Regions from separate parts of the Homo sapiens genome. Here region 2 is linked to region 1. Evidence: promoter capture Hi-C in 16 types of primary human blood cells and fetal thymus (Javierre and others, 2016). All regions are on one chromosome and are shown on one strand. Each heading gives the region's core, a stretch centred on a gene start or on the middle of the fragment in contact. The rest is flanking DNA. Distances are from core to core; before and after follow the strand shown.

The links. The method cuts DNA at HindIII sites, captures the fragments that hold promoters and counts their contacts. A CHiCAGO score of 5 or more calls a contact.
Region 2: a fragment that was not itself captured here is called in contact with the fragment with the promoter of RNF186 in region 1 in 1 of 17 cell types (endothelial precursors); the score reaches 5.5 in endothelial precursors.

Annotation. Positions count from the first base shown.
Region 1 is chr1:19,814,033-19,820,175 of GRCh38, reverse strand. RNF186 (ring finger protein 186) reads left to right here and starts at 4,893. Exons shown (of 1, transcript NM_019062.2): 1 at 4,893-6,143. The coding sequence starts at 5,075. The coding sequence ends at 5,758. RNF186-AS1 (RNF186 antisense RNA 1) reads right to left here and starts at 5,767. Exons shown (of 2, transcript NR_186008.1): 1 at 5,623-5,767; 2 at 674-933. RefSeq lists an enhancer at 2,901-3,432. The HindIII fragment of the contact is 1,953 bases long and covers 4,716-6,143 here.
Region 2 is chr1:19,735,242-19,740,828 of GRCh38, reverse strand. TMCO4 (transmembrane and coiled-coil domains 4) reads left to right here. Exons shown (of 16, transcript NM_181719.7): 11 at 1-52; 12 at 869-1,005; 13 at 3,373-3,457. Among named protein-coding and RNA genes, the nearest start is that of TMCO4, 62 kb to the left of the region's middle. RefSeq lists an enhancer at 1-413. The HindIII fragment of the contact is 630 bases long and covers 3,501-4,130 here.

The DNA.
Region 1 (6,143 bases), core at 3,644-6,143:
TCTTTCTCTCTATACAGTCATAATTTTCTCATTATTGTTATTTTGGTTCCAGATCCCTTTCTTCTGTCTCCTTGGCAATCTATCCTCAGACACGCAGATTCTTGGTGAGGGGTGGGGGTGGGGGTGGGGGGCTGAAAATAGGGATGGAGCCTGCCATGCTCTAAGGAGCACAGAGGCGAGAATTCTGGGACAAGAGTGTGAGCTGAGATGGTTTCCATTCAGCCCAAGGCAAGGAGGAGTGGAGAGCAACTCGGCGTTTGGCTGGGACCTGGCTCCCTGTGTTCACTGGAGTGTGGGGTGAGGGTCAGCTGATCAGGACAGAGGCCAAAGATGAGTGGACAGTTTGATCTCAGAACAGTGCTGCCACCTGACTCCTTTCTGACTTGACGGGAGGCCTAAAATTCAGATCAGACATGTTTTTGCAAAGGTACATGGGTGTGTGGTTCCTTGCACATGTGATTTCCAACATGATCTTCCTCAACTGGACTGGCTCCGGCTCCCCAGCCTGCAGCTAGGCTTGAAATTTCACCCCAACATGAGACTGTGTTTCTCACGATGGAGTGCGTATGACCCCAGGGCTGTGAGAAGCCATAAGATGGAAGAAACTGCATTTCAAATGAAAAAAGAAAAAAAAGCTTTACTCAAGATTAATGAGTTCATATTTGTACAGCAATTAAAACAAACAAATATGTTTTATTTGGAGATTTGGAAGGATTCGTGCATGCTTCGGGATTCTAATGTTGCAGTAAGCACAAATAGAACATGGAGAAGAATGTGAAACCTAGATGAATTTAACATTTTAAGTCTCCGGAGACACTTTTGAATTCCCCTGGGGTAGATCTGCTTCAGGCTCCACCTCAGACTCTGCCCATATTCACTCCTCTTCAAGAAGCATTGGCCGAATCAGTCACCAAAGTGTCTTATCTCATGTCCCTGGAAGAGATCAATTTCACCTAGGTCAGTTACAACCCAAAGTACATAAATTACTAAGCCTCCTGTGAGCAGGTTGTAGTCAGGGGTGGAGGGCTTAAATAATCCATAATTTCCTCAAGTGTTAACGTCTCCATTTTGTTTTATTTTATTTTATTTACTTTTTTTTAAATACAGAGTGTCACTCTGTCACCCAGGCTGGAGTGCAGTGGCACGATCTTGGCTCACGCAACTGCGACCTCCCAGGCTCAAGCTATCCTCCTGCCTCGGCCTCCCAAGTAGCTGGGGCTACAGGTATGCACCACCAGGCCCAGCTATTTTTTGTATTTTTAGTAGAGATAGGGTTGCACCTCATTGCCCAGGCCGGTCTCGAACTCCTGAGCTCAAGCGATCCACCCACCTCTGCTTCCCAAAGTGCTGGGATTACAGGCTTGAGTCACTGTGCCCGGCCTCCATTTTATCAAATTTTAAAACTGAACTGCAGTGAAGTTAAAATTCTTGCCCAAGGTCACATAGCTGGTAAAGTGACAGGAGCCAGATTTCCAGCTATAGTCAGTGCTGGTGATAGTTAAGGCAAGGCACTTTTGAGAAACAAAGTTGTTCCTAAGCCAAGATGGTAGGAGGAGGACAACAGGAAGGAATGCTCTGTTAACAGTGGTCATTTCTCAGGGGTTGCAGTAAGATGAACTTTCACATTCTACTTTATTTCTGTAATACTTGGGTTGTTCCAGCCAATATGTTTTCTTAACGGTGGTTGCCCAATGATGTTAAAAGGTTATTTTTTAGGCTCTAACCCCAAATAACTTCCCTTGGTCTGATTTCAACCTCACTCAGCTACCTTCTGACAATTTGATTTCCCATTAAGCTGGCTAGAGAGAGAGGCACTGGCCGGCTGGGTGAAGCGGCTCATGCCTGTAATCCTAGCATTTTGGGAGGCTGAGGCAGGTGAATCACCTGAGGTCAGGAGTTTGAGACCGATCTGGCCAACATAGTGAAAGCCCATCTCCACTAAAAATACAATATTAGCCGGGTGTGGTGGCACACGCCTGTAGTCCCAGCTACTCAGGAGGCTGAGACAAGAGAATCGCTTGAGCCCGGGAGGCAGAGGTCGCACTCCAGCCTGGGCAAGACAGAGCGAGACTCTATCTCAAAAAAAAGTGAGAGGGACACTGGCCAAGCCAACATCACTGTGTGGCCCACCTGATTTTCTATTCTTATTATAAATGAATGTGGCTCAACACATTTTTCTCCTCTCATCCCTAATCCATCCTAGGGTCTCACAAACAGAAAATAACATTATGCAATGCAAGTCCAAGCAGAGAAAACACAGAATCTCTTCTAGCATGGTAACACACAGGCATTCGGTCACTCTTGTCCGTGTACAAAGTCTGGTTGTCTCATCAATGCCTGACCCTTTGTCAGAGAGCAAGTAAAGGCTTCTTTTCTTCATCCATTGCTGTGTTACATAGAGGTCTTTCACTTGCAAGGGACAGAAGTTCAATTTGAACTGACTTAAGAATAAAAATCAGGGTAGATTTTATAGGTTAATATCCTTGAAAAAATCCAATGCTAGGTGTCCTGCTTCAGGTGTTCAAATAACATCATCAGGCCTTTGTCTGATTCTTTTCTCATTTTTCTTTTGTGCTGACCTTACTCTTGAGCAGGTTCTCTGCACACTGTGGTCCTGGCAGCCCCAGGGTTCCATCCTCTAACTTAGAAACCCAGCACAAAGAGAAACTTCTCAAGGGCTCCAACAGAAGTCTCAGAATTGAATCTCATTGGCTTGGCTTCGATTATATGCCTACGCTCAAACCAATGGCTGCAGCTAGCAGAGCAGAGCATGCTAACTGGCCTGTCCTGAATTGTATCAGGGCCCCACTTCCAGAGAGCTGGAGCCAGACATCACCCTCTCCGTGAGCACAGAATGACGGTGGGAAGCAGTGGTTGCCCAAAGTGAAAACAGAGAACTGTTACCCAAAAAAGGGGAAAGAATGCTAGGCATGGGGGAAAAAACATGCCTAGATCCAAGGCCACCTTCAGCTTGATCTGGGGGAAAACGTGATATAGATGTGTATCTATACCTTAGTATCTGAGACAGGTCTCAGTTAATTTAGAAAGTTTATTTTGCCAAGGTTGAGGACACATGTCCGTGACACAGCCTCAGGAGGTCCTGATGACATGTGCCCAAGGTGGACAGAGCACAGCTTGGTTTTATACGTTTTAGAGGGACATGAGACATCAATCAACATATGTAAAATGAACATTGGTTCCATCTGAAAAGGTGGAGCAACTTGAAGCAAAGGCAGGAAGACCTGAAGTGGGGAAGGGGCTTCCAGGTCACAGGTGGATAAGAATGGTTACATTCTTTTGAGTTTCTGATTAGCATCTCCAAAGGAGGCAATCAGATATGCATTTGTCTCAGTGAGCAGAGAGGTGACTTTGAATAGAATGGGAGGCAGGCTGGCCCTAAGCAGTTTCCAGCTTGACTTTCCCTTGTGGCTTAGTGATTTTGGGGCCCCACGATTTATTTTCCTTTCACAGAGGTAACTGATGGTCTAGCTACAGGTTGAGAAGAAATGGGATGGGATGGTGAGAGTATTGGATTTCAGAGATAGAGGGCCCAGGGGGAGTGGGGAGGTGGGAGTTACCGATCCCACAAGGGAGGGAGCCCCTTTGGGGCTGGTGACTCCAGGACACAGAGGGTGGCCTGCAGTGCCAGCTACTGGGGTAAGGGAAAGAGCTGAATCAGAGGCACAGGACTCTGTGTGGCCCTTGGCAGGTGACATGAGCACCAAAGGATCCTTCACACGGGCTTCTGAGTTCAGAGTGGCCTGAATGAAACATTTGTTTGAGGGAGTGCACATGCCACCCCGCCATTTGCCCTTGAGGGCAAAGTAAGGAAATCACGTTTTCCTAACTGCTGTGTTACTAATATCTGCCTGTCTCACATGAGTCCTCTTAGCCTACGCCACCCGGCTGGGGCCAGTTGTGTCCAAATGAACCAATGAAATTGATTCAACCAGACCTTGGACGCTGGTAGATTCCACAAGGTCCTGCTCCATGGAAGGCCCCTTGGCAGGCAGCCAGCAGCCTACCCTGACCACACCCTGCCCTTGTTTCCCAGCCTTCCCTACAAGGCTGTATCAGGGTTCCGGGAAATGGGGGCTGGGGACCCCGGGCACAGGGCTTGGCTTAGAGTAGGCCCAAATAAATGGCAGCTGTTCTTAGTACTACTGGATACGCAGCATGCCTAGCACAAAACAGGACACCTGTGATTAGGCATGTGAAGTGTGCAGCAGGGCACCGATGGGAAGTTCATACACCCGTAACTGTGAATACAACAGCTGTGGCTCTAAGGAAATGAATACAGTAGCAGGTGCCAAACACCTGTGCGCTGTATGTGGTTTTGTTTTTCTGCGTTGGGTTGGGCTTTGTCCTCCTTCCACTCACTTTTCTTACCTCTCCCCTCCTCTTTCCAAGGCCACCTGCCTGTAAATGTGCTCCAAGTGCAAACAAACTTTTTTCCACTCATCCTGACATCCAAAAGTTTGTGTCTGAGAAAGCAGTGTCCACCAATCCACCTATGTCCGACTCATAGGGCTGTCTGTTTATTGTGCAGATTTGTAGATGCCAGTGAGCCAAGATCGGGCCACTGCACTCCAACCTGAGAGAACGAGACTCCGTCTCAAAAAAAAAAAAAAAAGTTAAATAAAAAAAATTAATAAAAGGTTCAGGGACCTGGGAAGTGGGGGTGAGAGAGTTGGATTCTGCTGCCTCCTAAAGCTTGAGCCACAGTTCTGTGGGCACCCACCAGGTACCTGGCCCCAACAGGAAAGTCCTGATTCACTAGACCCTTGCCCACTTTGCCCTCCTATCAGGCAATTCAAAGTCTCCAGACCCGCAAGTTACTGATTAACCCTAGGTTTTGAGAAAATAAATAATAATAACTGAAGGGACGACGTAAGCCAAGAAACAAGCTGGGCAGCTCTGGGAGAGAGGAGTGTCAGACAGCTGTTGTCAACAGGCACCTGGCCAGAGTGAAAAGGAGGGGCAGATTCCATCCAAGTCCCAGCGGCGCCAGCTGACACTCTCTGCCAATGCCCAGGTGCTGAGCGACAGTGTCCCACCGGTCCCTGTGCCCAGAATGGCCTGCACCAAGACCCTGCAACAGTCCCAGCCCATCTCCGCAGGAGCCACCACAACCACCACCGCTGTGGCCCCTGCTGGGGGTCATTCTGGCTCCACAGAATGTGACCTGGAGTGTCTGGTGTGCCGGGAGCCCTACAGCTGTCCCCGGTTGCCCAAGCTGCTGGCCTGCCAGCATGCCTTCTGCGCCATCTGCCTGAAGCTCCTGCTGTGCGTGCAGGACAACACCTGGTCCATCACCTGCCCGCTGTGCCGCAAGGTCACCGCCGTCCCCGGGGGCCTCATCTGCAGCCTGCGCGACCATGAGGCGGTGGTGGGGCAGCTGGCCCAGCCATGCACAGAGGTATCGCTCTGTCCTCAGGGGCTGGTGGATCCTGCTGACTTGGCAGCAGGACACCCCAGCTTGGTGGGAGAGGATGGACAGGATGAAGTAAGTGCAAACCACGTGGCAGCCCGGCGCCTGGCCGCGCACCTACTCCTGCTGGCCTTGCTCATTATCCTCATCGGGCCCTTCATCTACCCGGGTGTCTTACGATGGGTGCTCACCTTCATCATCGCCCTGGCCCTGCTGATGTCCACCCTCTTCTGCTGTCTCCCCAGCACCCGGGGCAGCTGCTGGCCCTCCTCCAGGACTCTCTTCTGCAGAGAGCAGAAACACAGCCACATCTCTTCCATTGCCTGAGTGCCCTCTGATGAGGCTATCCCTGCAGCCCTTTCTGCCCTTGGGCCCCCGGACTTCCACAATGAACAGGGTAAGGGGTTACGGACTAAGACTGGCTCCTTTGGGAAATCACATGCCAGCGGGACTTGCAAGCCACAACCGAGATGGCCAGCCTGGGTCAAGAATTACACGCTTGGATGACAGGCTTGCACTTGCCCTTGGGATAGCATAGCTAAAACTGTTGGTGGCTAGGGGAGCAGACACAAACTACTTGAACATGACAAGATGGGGGAAGCTCCTGTTCCTCTTATTCCAATGTTCTTGGTTTTTCTTTATATAACTTGATGAAAGTATTGCAGTATTGATGCCATTGTAGAATAGAACTGGAATTCCATTCTTTTTGCAA
Region 2 (5,587 bases), core at 2,566-5,065, 78 kb after region 1:
GGTCTCGCCAACATGGTGGCCCAGGAGGCCCTAAAGTACACAGTGTTGTCTGGTAAGTGCCCCCACCTGCCCCCCAACAACAGCATGCCCACTGCCTTCATCCCAACACAGTGGTACCATAGTTTTGCATGCCCAAAGCCCCCAGGGCAGGCACCGTGCTGGACCCTAGGAACACAGAGAGGTTAAGGCCGCATTCCTGTCTGGGGGAAGTTTATGATCCCTATGGAGAGAAGACAGGTAAACAGCCAATCACATGATCAGTCCGTTAGCTATTGCTGTGGGACAAGCCACCCCAAAACTCCATGGGATGTTTACTGTAATAGCTCAGGAGGCTGGAGTTGGTGGATCTTAGCTAGGCCTGTGGGTCAGCCAACCATCCACCGATCAATGCTAGCCTTGTCTGGGGCAACTCAGCTCTGCTCCATTTGTCTCTCATCCTCCTGGGATGAGCAGGCAAGCCCATGTCAATGATAGAAGCGCAAGAGGCTAGCCCTGGTGCACAAATCCATTTCAAGCCTCACATCTATTAATGTCTTTGGCAAAAGCAAGTCACATGGCTGAGTCTAGAGGGGATGGGCAGGGCAGGGGTCCCCACTGCAGAGTTATGAAGCAAAGTGGGAGGGTACAGGGTGTGGAGACGAATTGGGGCCATCTCACACGTGACAAGGGCTTGAGCAGAAGGGATTGAGTCCATATATCAGAAATTCATGAGTTTCGGATTTCTTTGTTCTTTAGCAGTTTGATTGGCAAACTTGCAGGTCCAAGTTGGAGACTGCATGCATTTATTTGAGCATCTGTTAGCCAGTCACTTCCCTAGTAGGACCCTAGGACAGGGGCCATTCCCTTCATCACTATCTCACCTCCCCAGGCATTGTGGCTGCCCTGACCTGGCCAGCCTCACTCCTCAGTGTCGCCAATGTCATCGACAACCCCTGGGGGGTGTGTCTCCATCGATCAGCAGAGGTTGGCAAGCACCTGGCCCACATCCTGCTCTCCCGGCAGCAGGTACCTGGGAATGGCTGTGTGGGCGTGGCATTGAGCAAGAGGGGAAGTCAGGTGCTGACTTGTTCACAGATATCAGCCTTAGAGGCAAGGCTACTTGGAGATAACTCAATGGTTTTGGGGGTGTGGGCAGTCCTTGCTGCCTCTCCAGTTCAAGTAATGAATGTGTCCTAGGATGAACAGTAAAAATTATAGACTCTGCAGCTCTAGCAGGTATTTAGGTAAGGACTGAATAACAGGGCATCTGCAGGTAGGAACAAGTCTGGGGGACTCTGGCAGAAGCAAAAGTGGCTCCTATGTATCAGCTCTTCATTCAAGTGTTTAGGATAATCACTGGGCTCATTTGGGTGATATTTCAGTGGAAACCTCTGACGCAGTTTGCAGTGAAGCCAGTAAAGTGAATGAGACCAGGTGCTTCAGCTGGCCACCAATGGAATTCCCACATGCTGGTGGCCTGGTGTTCCTTCCCAGAAGTATAAAGCTACTTTGTGAGGTCATCTTTGGTGGTCTAAATACCATGTAAAATGGTTAGGAAGAGACATCATCATAATACTTTTAAAATTTGAATCTAGTAAAGATGTACTTACCAAGAGAATAAAACCATCCCCTTCAGAATAAAACTTGAGTGAATGGAGACAAAAGCTTGAGAAGCAGTACCAGAAATGACTGCATTGTCAGGATTTGTTTTGGCTGGAAGTGGGAGAAAACCCAAAATAACAGTGGCTTAAACAAGGTAGAAATTTATTTTCCTGGAGAAGCCTAGCAAGGTTGTCTAATAGCCTTCCATGGTGCAGAGGCCCAGGTTCCTGCTACCTTGTTGCTCTGGGGTCTTGACCTTGTATCAAAGATGGCATCATCCGAGCTCCAGGGAGCAGGAGAAAGGAAGAACTGAAGAAGAAACAGCAAAGCCTTACAACATTTCAGTTGGTGTCTCACTGGCCAGAGCCTAGTCACATGACCATTCCTAGCTGCCACAGAAGCTGGGAAATATAGTATTTATTCTGAGTGATGATGAACCCAGCTGAAATTCAATTACTATGGAAAAAAGGGAGGATGGATATTGAGGGATGACAACTAGCAGTTTCTGCCATGCAGCTAAACTGCTTGAGCAACTGGCCACCCCCTTCAATCCCTGCGTCTTTGTCAAAAGAAACAGAAAATCCTTCGGCAGGCTTGACTCTAAGGCAAAGGCCAAAGTGGCATTGGCTTAGACAAGATAGAATTTTGTTCTCTCCCAAGTAAGAGTCTGGGTGTCAATATCTGGAGCAAGATGATGTGTTAGTTTCCTGCTGCCACTGTTACAAATTACCACAAATTTACCAGCTGAAAACAAATGTACTATTTTACAGCTCTGGAGGTCAAAAGGCAAAAATGCATGCCTTAGGGAGGATCCCCTTTCCTTGCCCTGTGCTAAGTCTCAGCCCTGTGGCCACCTCAAGCTACGGAGGAGTCAGGGAAACTTCGTCTTTGGCTGGGTGGCCGTGTGCCCAGTCAAACTCAGGAGTAAAGGACAAAGGGGAGAATGATATTGGGCAGTGGCCAGCAGGGTTGGCACAAAGCTCCTGCAGGATTCGAATACTGTTTAACAGAGGATTTTCTACTGTGGTAAGTGGAGTGGTGTGGGGATGTGGAATACGTGTATTGGCACAAAACCAAGGAAAAGGAATAGACTGGTAAAACCAGGCTGGGCCTCCAGAGCTCATCCACTCCCCTCCTCTCCTTCCATGTAAGCTTGTACCCAAACACCCCCAGATAACTTTCATTTTCTTTAGAGTCTTGACATGATCAGTTACCTTTTCTTACAAGTCCTTGAGTCAGAAAATTCCTCTTTCCATCTGACTTACTACCTTATCTTATCACTTAGAGCCAATATTTTGTGCCCCACCTTCCTATCTAGAAACTGAACTGTTGTCCCTCCCTTGTCACTCTTGCCTTTTTACCCCTCACACCTGGGGGTGCCTTCTGTCTAATCTCCCCAGCTCCGGAAGGGGTCCCGCAGCACTGCAGCCATTTGCCGCAAGGCAGATCAGTGCAAGGGAAGTTGCTCTTGTAATTGACTAGCCCTGTCTCCTGGGGAAGATGAGACGGTGGCTGGATAATGATTTGAGATGAAAGGGAATTAACCCAGCCGGGGGCTGCCTGTTGGCCTTGGAGGAAGCCAATTCCAGCAGCAGGTGCACTCCTGCATAAATGAGGGTCCTGACTCTGCTGATTAAGACATCAGCGCTCAGGGACCGGAACAGCACATGCATGATTCATTAGATGAGAATCAGGTGGTAAGGAATGTGCAAAGGCTGCCCTCCTCAGGCCTGATGTTTTGCTAGAACTGGCAGTATTCCTTCCAGACACCTGTGTCCTTTTTCCCTTCAGGGGCGACGACCTGTCACCTTGATTGGCTTCAGCCTGGGAGCCAGAGTCATCTACTTCTGTCTGCAGGAGATGGCTCAAGAGAAAGGTGAGCATGGATTATTGTCACAGACGGAAACCCTTCACAAGCTTGTTCCCAGGGACAGATGTTCTGGGCCAGGGGCCATGAGCCTTGCAAAATGTGTTCCCAGTTCTTAGAAATAATAGTTAAAAGTTAAAAATAGTTTAAAAATCAAGAAAAATCGTCATCAACCTTGGGGAAATGATTTTATATACATACATTAGAGTAGATGCAAGATGGACCATCCTGTAATAATGACACTGGCTTTTGTGTTCTAATGCACTTTCCCAAGTGGGAATGAAGGGGACAAGAAATTCAAAATTAAGGTGTTGGCAGGTGCACTTTCCCTCTGAAGGCTCTAGTGGAGGATTTTTCCTGTCTCTTCCAACTTCTTGTGGCTGCCAGCAGTCCTTAGCATTCCTTGGCTTGTAGACATGTCATTCCAGTCTCTGCCTGTTGTCTTCTCTCATAAGGACAGACAGAGTCATTGGATTTAGGGCCCACTCTCATCCAGGGTGATCCCATGTCAAGATCATTTACTTAATTATATCTGCAACGACCCTTTTACCAGATGAGGTCGCATTCACAGGTTCTGGGTGGACATATCTTCTGGGGGTTCACCATTCAACCACACACAGACACCTTTGGGAGTGTGTCATGCCTCCAGTGTCATCCTTTCTGTGCAAGGCAGTGAAAAGCTTGAGGGCTGCTGCTCCTGGCCTTGGGTAGGTGAGGTCTCCAGGGCAGAATGCTGGTTTTGGACAGATCTGTCAGCAGGGGCTGCCTGTGGAGGGGCTGGTTGGGAGAGTGAGTTGCCGAGCCTGGGGCACTTGGAGTGGTTCACTGCTCCTGGAACATGGGCTCACCTCCTCTCAGTGGAAGGTAGCAGCGGCAGGACTCTGAAGGCAAGAGGAGGAACTCAGAGAGAAATTGTTGAACCTGGGAGTGGAGGGTGGATGGGAGAGAAGGATTGGAGCTTAATATGATTTGGTTGTGTCCTCACCCAAATCTCATCTTGAATTGTGGCTCCCACAATCCACATGGGTCATGGGAGGGACCCGGTGGGAGGTAATTGAATCAGGGGGGTGGGTTTTCCCCATGCTGTTTCCATGATAGTGAATAAGTCTCATGAGAGCTGATGGTTTTATAAAGGGCAGTTCCCCTGCACGCGTTCTCTTGCCTGCCACCATGTACGACGTGCCTTTACTTCTCCTTTGCCCTCCACCATGATTGTTATTTGTTGCTGCAAAACGGCCTCTCCAAACACGGTGGCCAAAAGCAGCAATAACTGATCATTTCTCACGATTCTATGAGTTGGCAAGACCATTTGCCTCTCCTGCCTGGGCTTAGTCATGCAGTTGTAGTCAGAGCTGGAACACCCAGGAGGTCCAAGTTGACCTCATTCGTGTATCTGGCCATCGGTGCTGGTTGTCGGCCAATGCAGACTCCTCCCTGCTCTCCAAATCTACTTTTCCCAGGGAAGCCTTTGAAAAGTTGCCATCCTCTCTGCTGTCATCATTTTGCTTCTTTCCTTGTCATCTTTCCCTCTCTGGCAGCAAACCGTCTATCTGCCAGGCTCGTTACCTAGAGAGATGTAGTCTTATTAATAGAACCAATTCTTCATTCAGAGGGCATGTCTCTGCCTCCAGTTAGCATAAATGCTATGTTAACTTAAGATCGTTAGTACAGGCAAGACTTTAATTCCCCTGCCAAACAAATTGAATTAATTACCATGAACCATTTGGCTGTGGTAACCGGAAGTGAGGTCGACTCTCAGCTGTCCCCAGAATGTGAGGCTGGAAACTGGAAAGAGGGAAGAGGGAGGCAGGTGGCTTCTTGGTGACAGGGCTGGTTTGTGTGACACTGGGAAGTTCCTGCACTACAGCCTTTTGGGGGATGGTTCCCAAAGCAGCTTCCTTCCAGCATCTTTCCTGCTCGCTGCTCCCACCCCTGGATCCTCATGGCCCATAGCTGAGATTTTGGGTTTTGATATTAGGCAGACCTGGATTTGGCTCCTAGCTTTGCCACTGACTGGCTGTCGGACCTTGGGCTAGTCACTTAACCTCTCTGGGCCTCAGCTTCCTCAAAGGATATGAGCTTTGTACACTTATCTCAAAGGATCATGGGGGGATGACATAACGAATGTGAGAATTCCTG